2 separate regions of the Homo sapiens genome follow, and region 1 is linked to region 2. Evidence: promoter capture Hi-C in 16 types of primary human blood cells and fetal thymus (Javierre and others, 2016). All regions are on one chromosome and are shown on one strand. The core of a region is centred on a gene start or on the middle of the fragment in contact, and the rest is flanking DNA. Distances in the headings are between cores, read along the strand shown. Region 1 overlaps MROH1 (maestro heat like repeat family member 1). Region 2 holds the start of TONSL-AS1 (TONSL antisense RNA 1).

Evidence for each region. The method cuts DNA at HindIII sites, captures the fragments that hold promoters and counts their contacts. A CHiCAGO score of 5 or more calls a contact.
Region 1: a contact is called between a fragment that was not itself captured here and the fragment with the promoter of TONSL-AS1 in region 2, in 1 of 17 cell types (M1 macrophages). The highest score is 5.0, in M1 macrophages.

What each region holds. Positions count from the first base shown.
Region 1 is chr8:144,157,979-144,163,120 of GRCh38, forward strand. MROH1 (maestro heat like repeat family member 1) reads left to right here. Exons shown (of 44, transcript NM_032450.3): 2 at 2,992-3,111. Among named protein-coding and RNA genes, the nearest start is that of MROH1, 13 kb to the left of the region's middle. The HindIII fragment of the contact is 161 bases long and covers 3,182-3,342 here.
Region 2 is chr8:144,432,265-144,437,425 of GRCh38, forward strand. TONSL-AS1 (TONSL antisense RNA 1) reads left to right here and starts at 2,904. Exons shown (of 6, transcript NR_109770.1): 1 at 2,904-3,176; 2 at 4,487-4,731. It overlaps TONSL (tonsoku like, DNA repair protein), which reads right to left. Exons shown (of 26, transcript NM_013432.5): 14 at 4,763-4,835; 15 at 4,493-4,656; 16 at 4,294-4,417; 17 at 3,394-4,154; 18 at 3,210-3,286; 19 at 2,753-2,906; 20 at 2,547-2,625; 21 at 1,714-2,015; 22 at 1,324-1,495; 23 at 21-196. MIR6893 (microRNA 6893) reads right to left here and starts at 3,355; the gene lies at 3,287-3,355. The HindIII fragment of the contact is 6,013 bases long and covers 2,263-5,161 here.

The DNA.
Region 1 (5,142 bases), core at 2,012-4,511, 270 kb before region 2:
CTATTTCTTTCTTTTTTTTTTTTTTTTTTTTTGAGATGGAGTCTGGCTCTGTCGCCCAGGTTGGAGTGCAGTGGTGCTATCTTGGCTCACTGCAAACTCCGCCCCCTGGGTTCAAGCAATTCTCCTGTCTCAGCCTCCCAAGTAGCTGGGACTACAGGTGCATACCACCATGCCCAGCTAATTTTTGTATTTTTAGTAGGGTTCGGGTTTCACCATACTGGCCGGGCTGGTCTCGAACTCCTGAACTCAGGTGATCCACGTACTTCAGCCTCCCAAAGTGCTGGGATTACAGATGTGAGCCACCACGCCTGGCCAATTTTTCTATTTTTAGTAGAGATGGGGTTTCACTGTGTTGGTCAGGCTGGTCTCGAACTGACCTCAAGTGATCCACCCACCTTGGCCTCCCAAAGTGCTAGGATTACAGGCATGAGCCACCTCACCTGGCCTCTAGTTTCTTAAGGTAGAAGTTGAACTCATTATTTTTTTCCTGCACATTCTCTGTATACTTTAATCATTCTTCTTTTCTAAAAAGACATTTAGTGCTATAAGTTTCCACAAATTTTGATATGTCTTTTCATTTTCATTCACTTCAGTGTGTTTTGTAATTTCACTTTTGATTCCTTTTTAGACCCATGCGTTATTTCAAAGCATATTAAATAGTTTTGAAACTCCTGGGGATTTCTCAGATATCTTTCTCTTATTGATATATTTAATTCCACTGTGGTCAGAGAACATACTTTGTATGCATTGACTTCTTTTACACTTTTTTTTTTTTAATTTTTAGCGACAGGGTCTCACTCCTGTCGCTGAGGCTGGAGCACAGTGGTGTGATCTCTGCTCACTGCAGCATTGACCTCCTGGGCTCAAGTGATCCTCCTGCCTCCCGAGTAGCTGGGACTACAGGCGCACGCCACCACGCCCAGCTAGTTTTTGTATTTTTTGTAGAGACAGGGCTTCGCTGTGTTACCCAGGCTGGTTTTGAACTCCTGAGCTCAAGCATTCAAACTGCCTCGTAGCCTCCCAAAGTGCCAAGATTACAGGTATGAGCCACTCTGCCTGGCCGAATTTTCTGTTCACTTGTTCTAACAGAGACAGAGGGCCGGGCACAGTGGCTCACGCCTGTAATCCCAGCACTTTGGGAGGCTGAGGTGGGTGGATCACCTGAGGTCAGGAGTTCGAGACCAGCCTGGCCAATGTGGTGAAACCCCATCTCTACTAAAAATACAAAAATTAGCCAGGTATGGTGGCCCGTTTCTGTAGTCCCAGCTCCTGGGGAGGCTGAGGCAGGAGAATCACTTAAACCCGGAAGGCGGAGGTTGTAGTGAGCCGAGATCCTGCCATTGTACTCCAGCCTGGGCGACAAAAGCGAAACTCCGTGTCAAAAAGAAAGGAGAGAGAGAGAAATGTTGAAATCTATACTGCAATTTAGATTGGTCTATTGTTCCTTGCATTTTTATTAGTTTTGGCTTTGTGTATTTTGAAGCTCTGTTACCAGGTAAAAATGTTTAGGATACTTAATATTTCTGAAATCTAGTTTGTCTAATGTGACTCCAGCTTTCTTGTAACTAATGCCAGCCATGTTTTTCTTTGCCCATCCTTTTGCTTTTAACCTCGTAGTGTTAACATATTTAATCTTTCCTGTAGTTTCTCAAACATATGAAATAGTTTTAATAACTAATGTCTGTGTCTCTGAACTCTTTCCTTTGTGTTATTTCTGGGTCAGTTTGTATTGGTTGGTTCATCCTCACAATGGGTTGGATTTTCTTGCTTCTTTGTACGCCTGGTAATTTTTTTTTTTTTTTTTTTTGAGACGGAGTCTCGCTTTGTCGCCCAGGCTGGAGTGCAGTGGTGCGATCTTGGCTCACTGCAAGCTCCGCCTCCCGGGTTCACGCCATTCTCCTGCCTCAGCCTCCTGAGTAGCTGGGACTACAGGGGCCCGCCACCACACCCCGTCTAATTTATTGTATTTTTTAGTAGAGACAGGGTTTCACCGTGTTAGCCAGGATGGTCTTGATCTCCTGAGCTCATGATCCACCCGCCTCGGCCTCCCAAAGTGCTGGGATTACAGGCGTGAGCCACCGCGCCCGGCCCACGCCTGGTAATTTTTGATTGGATGCCAGGCGTTGCTTTTGCTTGGTGTTGCTGGATATTTTTGTGTTTCTGTTAGTATTCATGAGCTTTGTGCTGGGAGCTGGCTAAGTTACTAGGGAACAGTTTGATCTTGTCAGACCTTTCTTTTAGCTTTGTTAGGTGAGACCAGAATGACATTTAGTCTAGGACTGATTTGGTTGTTTACTGAGGTGGAATCCTGAGCTCTGCCTGGTGCCCCATGAGTCATGACGCTTTCCACACTTTCCACTCCGGCTGCTGGGAGCAGGCCCCATTCCTGGACCTGTGGAAGCCCTGGATGTTGCTTCTCCTAATCCCTTTGTGTGGCTCTTTCTGCAGCTTTGGACAGTTTGTTCTCCTACAAGGCATTTGTCTTAGTTTTCTAATGCTGATGCAATGCATTATCACAAACTTAGTGCCTTAAGCAACACAAATTTATTACCATAAAGTTTTTGGAGTCAGAAGTCTACCAAGGGTCCCACCGGCTAGAACCCAGGCACCAGACAAATTTATTACCATAAAGTTCTTGGAGTCAGAAGTCTACCAAGGGTCCCACCGGCTAGAACCCAGGCACCAGACAAATTTATTACCATAAAGTTCTTGGAGTCAGAAGTCTACCAAGGGTCCCACTGGCTAGAACCCAGGCACCAGACAAATTTATTACCATAAAGTTCTTGGAGTCAGAAGTCTACAAGGGTCCCACCGGCTAGAACCCAGGCACCAGACAAATTTATTACCATAAAGTTTTTGGAGTCAGAAGTCTACCAAGTCTCACCAGCCAGAACCCAGGCGCCGGGGGCTGCTTCCCTTCCTGGTGCCCCTGGGAAGGATTGCTTCTGCTGTCTCAGGTTCCTGGCAGAATTTGGTTCTTTGCATCTGTAGGACGGAAGCTCCTGTTTTCTTGTCAGCCGCCAGCTGAGGGCCATTCGCAGCTTCTCCAGGCCACCTGCATTCCTTGTCTCAGAGCCTCCCTCCTGCATCCTCCAAGCCAGCAGTTGTGGGGTGAGTCCTTCTCACGCTTCAAATTTCTCCTCCCCGCTCTTCTGTCTCTTCTCTTTGACGCACCTGGGAAAGCTTCTGTGCTTTTAAGGACTCATGTGATTAGTTTGGTCTCACCCAGGTAATCCAGGATAATCTCCCTGTCTCAGGGCCTGTACCCTTAATCTCATCTACTGAATCCCCTTTGCTGTGTAAGGGTTCATACACACAGGTTCTGGGGATTAGGGTGTGGGAAGCTTTGGGGCTATTATTCTGCTGACCAGTAACTTGCTGAGTGCCCAGGGAACCCGCTGCAGGTCTCTAAAGTTCTCTCTGGGCAGCGCTTTCTCTGGTATGAGAGACTGCAGACTCCGGCCGCCTTGGTATCGGCCGGCACTCCCCGTTCTGTCTCATCAGCTTAGGTGTTTTGCTGGGCCCTAGGACTGGGTCCTCTCTCCAGGCAGTGAGCTGGGCTCTTAGGGCTCCGCCTCATTTCCTACCTCTCAGGCCGCACAGTCCTTCATTTTCTGATGTCCATTGTCCTGAGAAACAGTGGTTTCTTGTGTCTCGTCCAGTTTTTTAGTTGTCCTGTGATTCTCGCCTGGGCCGGGAGCAGGCAAGTCCAAGTCCATGTGCCCATTTGTTTTGTTAGCTCCTGTTTGAGTTGGGTGAGCGTGGCTGCTGCACTGGAAGGGGTGCTGCACGGTCGTGGACTGGCGTTGGTTCCGCCCGTTTCTTCCTGGACGACGGAGCTGGGCAGTGCTGGCTACCCGCAGGGCACAGCCTCTGGTCCCAGAGCCCGGCCACTCAGCCCAGCTTCTCCGCCTCCCAGCTCAGCTCAGGCCTGGGAACTCTGGCTTGTGATGCTCCACGTCAGGCGTGCCCTTGTCTCTGGGAAGTATGTGCTGTGGGCGCTTTCACAGGTTTTCTGCCCTGCCTGGGAGCCACTGCCCTCTTCAGCTCTTAACTCTTCCACAGCTTGGGATCTTTATGGAATATGTTTTTTTGTTTTTCTTTTCTTTTTTTTTTTTTTTTTTAAGACAGAGTCTCACTCTGTCGCCCAGGCTGGAGTGCAGTGGCACGATCTCAGCTCACTGCGACCTCCACCTCCCGGGTGCAAGTGATTCTTCTGCCTCAGCCTCCTGAGTAGCTGGGATTACAGGCACGCGCCACCACACCCAGCTAATTTCTGTATTTTTTTAGTACAGACTGGATTTTACCATGTTAGCCAGGCTGGTCTTGAAATCCTGACCTCAGATGATCCGCCCGCCTCAGCATCCCAAAGTGCTGGGATTACAGATATGAGCCACTGCGCCCGGCCCTGTTTTTCTTTTCTTTTTTTTTGAGACAGGGCTCGCTCTGTTGCCCAGGCTGGAGTGTAGTGCAGTGGTGCAATCTCGGTTCACTGTAACCTCCGCCTACCAGGTTCAAGCAATTCTCCCACCTCAGCCTCCTGAGTAGCTGGGATTACAGGCATGAGCCACCAGACTGGCTAATTTTTTTGTATTTTTAGTAGAGATGGTGTGTCACCATGTTGGCCAGGCTGGTCTCAAACTCCTGGCCTCAAGTGGTCCACCTGCCTCAGCCTCCCAAAGTGCTGGAATTACAGGCATGAGCCACTGCACCCGGCCCATGATGTCTTTTTTCTTTCTTTCTTTTGTTTTTTTTTTTCTCTGAGACAGAGTCTCACTCTGTCGCTCAGGCTGCAGTGCAGTGGTGTGTCCTTGGCTCACTACAACCTCCGCTTCCCAGGTTCAAGTGATTCTCATGCCTCAGCTCCCTGAGTAGCTAGGACTAAAGGTGCCTGCCACCACGACCGGCTAATTTTTGTGTTTTTAGTAGAGACAGAGTTTCATCATATTGGCCAGGCTGGTCTCGAACTCCTGACCTCAAACAATCCACCCACCTTGGCCTCCCAAAGTGCTGGATTACAGGCATGAGCCATCGCTCTTGGCCAAGATTTCTATGATTTCTTACTTCGCCTCCAACCCATGTGTGCACAGCGCAGGGAGGTGTCCTGGCTGGTCAGGGATGGGTCATGGTGTCTCTCCTTCA
Region 2 (5,161 bases), core at 1,654-4,153:
GGTTCTTCCCCACCTCGTACCTTGGCCAGGTATCGGAATACAGGCTCCATGAGGTCCGAATCACCCTTGCCGGCTGCCACGGAGCTGAGCTCTAAGTGCAGGAGGGTGCCGGCGGGCAGGCTCTGCAGGGTCCTGGCCAGGGCAGGGGCTCCCAGGGCGTTGTAGGACAGGGACAGGGTCTTCAGGTGCTCAGCATCTGCACCGGGGCCAGAATCCGTCAGCCCCACGTGGCCACAGCCCTGTACCCACCCCAAGTTCTGGGCCCAGAACCCTCAGGACCCCTTTGGGGAAACCACTACCGCAGTGCTCGCAGGGTGGGGTGGCAAGTGCAGAGGCAAAGGCTCTCGCCCAGATTCTCCCAGCTGGGAGGGCGGGGCCAGACTTCCAAGCTCGGCTGCCCCCAGTTCTGGACAACTTGCCCTCTCCCACCCCACAACCACACGGTCCTGGGCCACATGCCTCTGCACAGTGGGGGTGCCAGGGGAGTGCACTGACCATTGCTGCCCCCCTTACACTCCCCCTGGATGACACCCAATTCCCAGCCTCTTGGCACTGGGACCCCAGTCTCTGCAGCCTGAGTGGGCTCACAGTGGAACTGCCTCAGGCGAACAGCACTCAGCTGGCGAGCACGGGATGGGGACCACAGGACACTAGCTGCCCGGACTCTGCTCTCGGTGTGTCCTGCGGGGGTCAGCCTGGCTGGGTGGGCACCAGACGCCCCTCGGAGGCAGACCCTGTACCCACACATCCATCTATTGCTCCCAGGTGCCAGGCCCTCCCGGAGAGCCAGGTCTGGCATCCCAGGCCCCTAGACGTTGTTTGTTTCGTTTTTTTGACACGGAGTCTTGCTCTGTCGCCCAGGCTGGAGTGCAACGGCGCGATCTCGGCTCACTGCAAGCTCCGCTTCCCGGGTTCATGCCATTCTCCTGCCTCAGCCTCCTGCGTAGCTGGGACTACAGGCACCGGCCACCACGCCCAGCTAATTGTATTTTTAATAGAGACGGCGTTTCACCGTGTTAGCCAGGATGGTCTCGATATCCTGACCTCGTGATCTGCCCGCCTTGGCCTCCCAAAGTGCTGGGATTACAGGCGTGAGCCACTGCGCCCGGCCTAGACGCTTTTTTCTTAAGGGATGGGGTCTCACTATGTGGGCCAGGCTTTCCTGGAACTCTTGGCTCAAGCGATACTCCCGCCTCAGCCTCTCAAGTAGCTGGGACCACAGGTGTTGCCCCTGTGTGCCCAGCCTGGGCCCCCTCTGAAAGTCCTGGAAACCCTCAATGCCCCAGGGCTAGGGAGTGGACAGGGAGTGCCTGGTCAGCTCACCTTGGAAAGCACTACCCAGTGCTGTCTGGTGGCTCAGAAAGAAGCTGGGGCCGAAGCCACACGCCTGCAGGCGCAGGGTGCTGAGTAAGGGGCAGGCGTGCAGGAGGGAGGCCAGGGACTGGCCACAGCCGTCCCCCAGGGGGTTCATGCTTAAGTCCAGCTCCTCCAAACTCTGTGGAAGACACAGGCTGGCAGTGAGCCCCCAGCAGTCCCACGGACAGGGTCCCCCTTGGGGCTTGGCTTGGCAGTCTCTTCCCCACCTTGCCTGGCATAGCCTATTACAGCCGGGCACTGGCTGGCTCTCCCAACTACCCTAGACCACCCAGGGACCTGCAGAATGGGAACCCCAACTCCCCGCTGTTGAGGGCCTGCTGCTCTCTGTGCCTATACCTGCAAGGTGGCTTGGCCTGGGAGCCCCATGGCAAGCTGGCGCAGGCCTTCGGGACCCAGGTGATTGGAGGAGAGGTCAAGGAGGGCCAGGCTGGGCATGGTGCCCAGGGCAGCCACCAGCTCAGCCACACACTTGTCCCCCAGCCGGTTCCCTGCCAGGCGCAGCTCCCGGAGTGCTGTGTGCAGCTTGAGGGCCCGCAGCAGGGGTGTAAGCTGGGCCTGGTCCAGGGCCAGGGAGCAGGCGCTGAACGAGAGGCCCAAGCCCTGGAGCTCCACGGCCTGCAGCACCTGTTGGTGCTCCCCTGCGGGAGGGATGTGATGTCACCAGGGTAAGGCCGGCCCTTTCTGCCCTCTGAATCCCAGAGGGCAAACCAGGCAGCCCCTTTTCAACAGCCCCAGGGGTCACCCACCAGACTTGCTGTAGAGCCCACTCGCACATGCCTGTGGGTCTAGCACTGTGAGGCCCTGGGGGCCGGGGTGGGTCTGCAGCACCCTGAGCTCCACCAGTCACTGCCAGATTCCACACCCCCCGGGACAAGCTTTCTGGGAAGCTTCCCCAGCAGCTCCCAGCCCATGCCAGGCCCTCCTCCTTGGGTTTGACTTTCCAGGCTTTCGGCTGCTTTTTGCCATCTCCCTGTCAGCAGATCATGGGGGCTGAGGGCTGTCCTCTCCCTTCCACCCACACATCCAAGTGCAGGACACAGCACCCACCAGGCTGGGGGAGGTGCACCCCAAAACACCCGAGGCCCAGGAATGAACCGGGCTGGTGGAGCCTGTGTGCCCAACCCCCTTGTACGACCTCACCCAGAAACTGCAGCTCTCCTGGCCCTCACCTTGCCCCAGGCTCTGGCAGGCCCTGCGGTAGCGGTCAGTCAACGGGGGCAGGTCCCACGAAGTCACCTCAGCCAACACCTGGAAGGCACCGTCATGAGCCACCTGGGGGCTCCCCCGGCTCACCTCATCATTGCTCTGCAGCCATGAGCCACCCGGGGGCTCCCGGTGCCTGAGGCCCTGGCTCCCCCTCCGCTCTGCGGCTCACCTCGTCATTGCTCTGCAGCACATCAGGGATGAGGTCCTGTGGGGCCAGCAGGGCCCCCTCTTTCCGTAGGGTGAGCCTGGGCAGCAGCCCGCAGGTCTGGTAGTAGCGCTGGGCCGCCTGCTCGGCCAGCCAGGCCACAGAGTGGGTGTCACTGCTGCAGGGACAGAGGCGCTGCTGCTGCTGCCTGCACACAGCCGGGGTAATGCCCCAGGGACCCGCCATCCCTGCCCAGGGCCAGAAGCCCCCTCAGCTGCTTCTCCCATTCCCAGGTAGCCGGCCCCTCCTCTCCCTGCAGCCCAGCACACCACCAGCCCCTCTGCTATTCCTGGGGGCCACAGGATCCTCCTGGAACACACCAGGGAGCCCTCGTCACACGCCCCACCCTGACATGCAAACACGAGCACCCTGGCATGGAGCTGCACAGGTGGGCTGCGGGGTAGGGCAGGCGATGCCTCACCTGTGTGGGACAGGGATGAGGAAGAGATGATCCTGAACTTGAACTCGAACCCGGATGGGAGGGGGCGGGGCCGGACCCTGGCAGGTGAAGGCAGCAGGGCTGAGTCAGGAGCCACAGTGGGCTCCACCCTACACCTGCCTGCCCGGAGTGGGGAGAGGGCTCTGCTCCAGGTCTGCATACCCACCAAGGGCTGGCCTGCCGCAGAGCTGTCCCCACTGGGCTCTGAGACCCTGGGGGTGCTGGGGCTCCCTGGAGGTTCTGAAGCCAGGCTGCTGGGCCCTGCGTTAACTGGCGCACTGCAACTCTGCATGCAGGTCAGGCGGACCTGCTTGGCTCGGGCACGGGGCCTGCTCTCCTCACTGTCCGACCCAGAGGTACTACTGGGCCTGCGGTTGTCTCCAGTGCCCCGGGGGCGGGGCCGGCGGCTGCGGGTCAGGGGCATGTCCAGCTCCAGCCAGTCCCCGGCCAGGCACTCCTCCTCCGGGATGAGCGCTGCCTGGGGGGCAAGGGCTTTGCTGTGGCCCCGCGGTGGGCCAGGCCCCAGCCGGCTCTGAGCACTGCCCACACCCCGGATGGCTGCCTGGTAGGCTGCCCGGCTGGTGCTGGCTGTGGCTGCTTCCCTGTTGCTGGCGGGGCCAGGCGTCCAGGCTGCCACCCGTTGTGCTGTGGCCGAGCACCGAGGCCTCTTCTGGGACGGCCGTGCGGGGCCTGCGCTGTCCTCGCCTTCTGAGCTGCTGCTGCTGCTGGCTGGCCCATGCCTGCTCCTCCGAGGCCTGGCCATGGCTGGTGCCGCCTGCCCTGGGGAGACCCTGACATGGGCCTGAGAGGCCTCTGGGAGTCTAGTGCTATTAGAGGGGGGTTCTGGGCAGGGGCTCAAAGGAGGAGAGGTCTCGGGGTCAAACAGAAGGCTGCTTGGGGTGTGGAAGGCCTGGGAGCTGTGGGGATCTGTGGGAGAGAGAATGCGTGTTGAGGCAGGGGCCCGGCACCTCCCGCTCCACCTGTGATGGAGCATCTCCCGAAATCAGGGCCCGGGGACTCTCAGCGTAGGCACAGCAACCCCAGGGACAAGGGACGCCCTGCTTGCCTTGGCCCGAGGCAGCCGCCTGGAGCAGCATCTCCATGGCCCTGGCCTTCTGCCGCGTCTCCAGGTCCAGGTCCCTGCGGTACAGCTTCACCCACTGCTGCAGCGTCTCCAGCGGGCTGAGGCCCTGTGTGGCATCAGTTGAGCAGGGGCACAGCAGCCCCCATAACCTCGCCCTTGCCCTCTGCCCCACCAGGCTCACCTTTCGAGTGCGGAGGGTGACGGACGCCCCCCGTTCAAGCAGCAGCTCAGCCACCTCGAAGTGGCCACAGTTGAGGGCATCGTGGAGGGGGGTGATGCCTTCGCAGCCCTGGCCACCTGGGTCGTCCACTGCGGCCCCGTGGTCCAGCAGGAAGCGGACAATTTCTGCAGACCAGGAGACGTAAGCCCAGCTCCCGATGCCCCGCCAGGACTGACTCTTCGCCCCACGTGTCCACCAAGGTGCGCCAGGCTCCTTCTGTCCCTTGCTCACCTAGATGCCCGTAGTTGCAGGCCTCGTGCAGAGGTGTCCAGCCACAGTAGTCCCGAGGGTTAAGGGGGTGGCCCTGTGACCAAGGACAGGAAGGAGCCTGGCCCTGTGTACCTCACAGCCTGGCCCCAGCCCCGTGAGCTCTGCAGCCTAAGCTGAGCCCAGGGCCTCAGTCTTAGAGCCCAGAGCAAGTCCGTGGCCCTGCCCTCTCCTCCTCCGGCCTAGGTGTCACCAGTGAAGGACATGCTTCCCCCTGAGACAGGTGGACCAGCCACAGCATATCCTCCGCCTCTGTGCCTGCCCGGTCCCCTTGTGGGGAGACAGTGCACCTGGTCGCAGGGGCATGAGGCAGGCGGGGCGGGAAGGTGCCCAGATCTCAGCCCATGGGCTAGCCCCCATCCT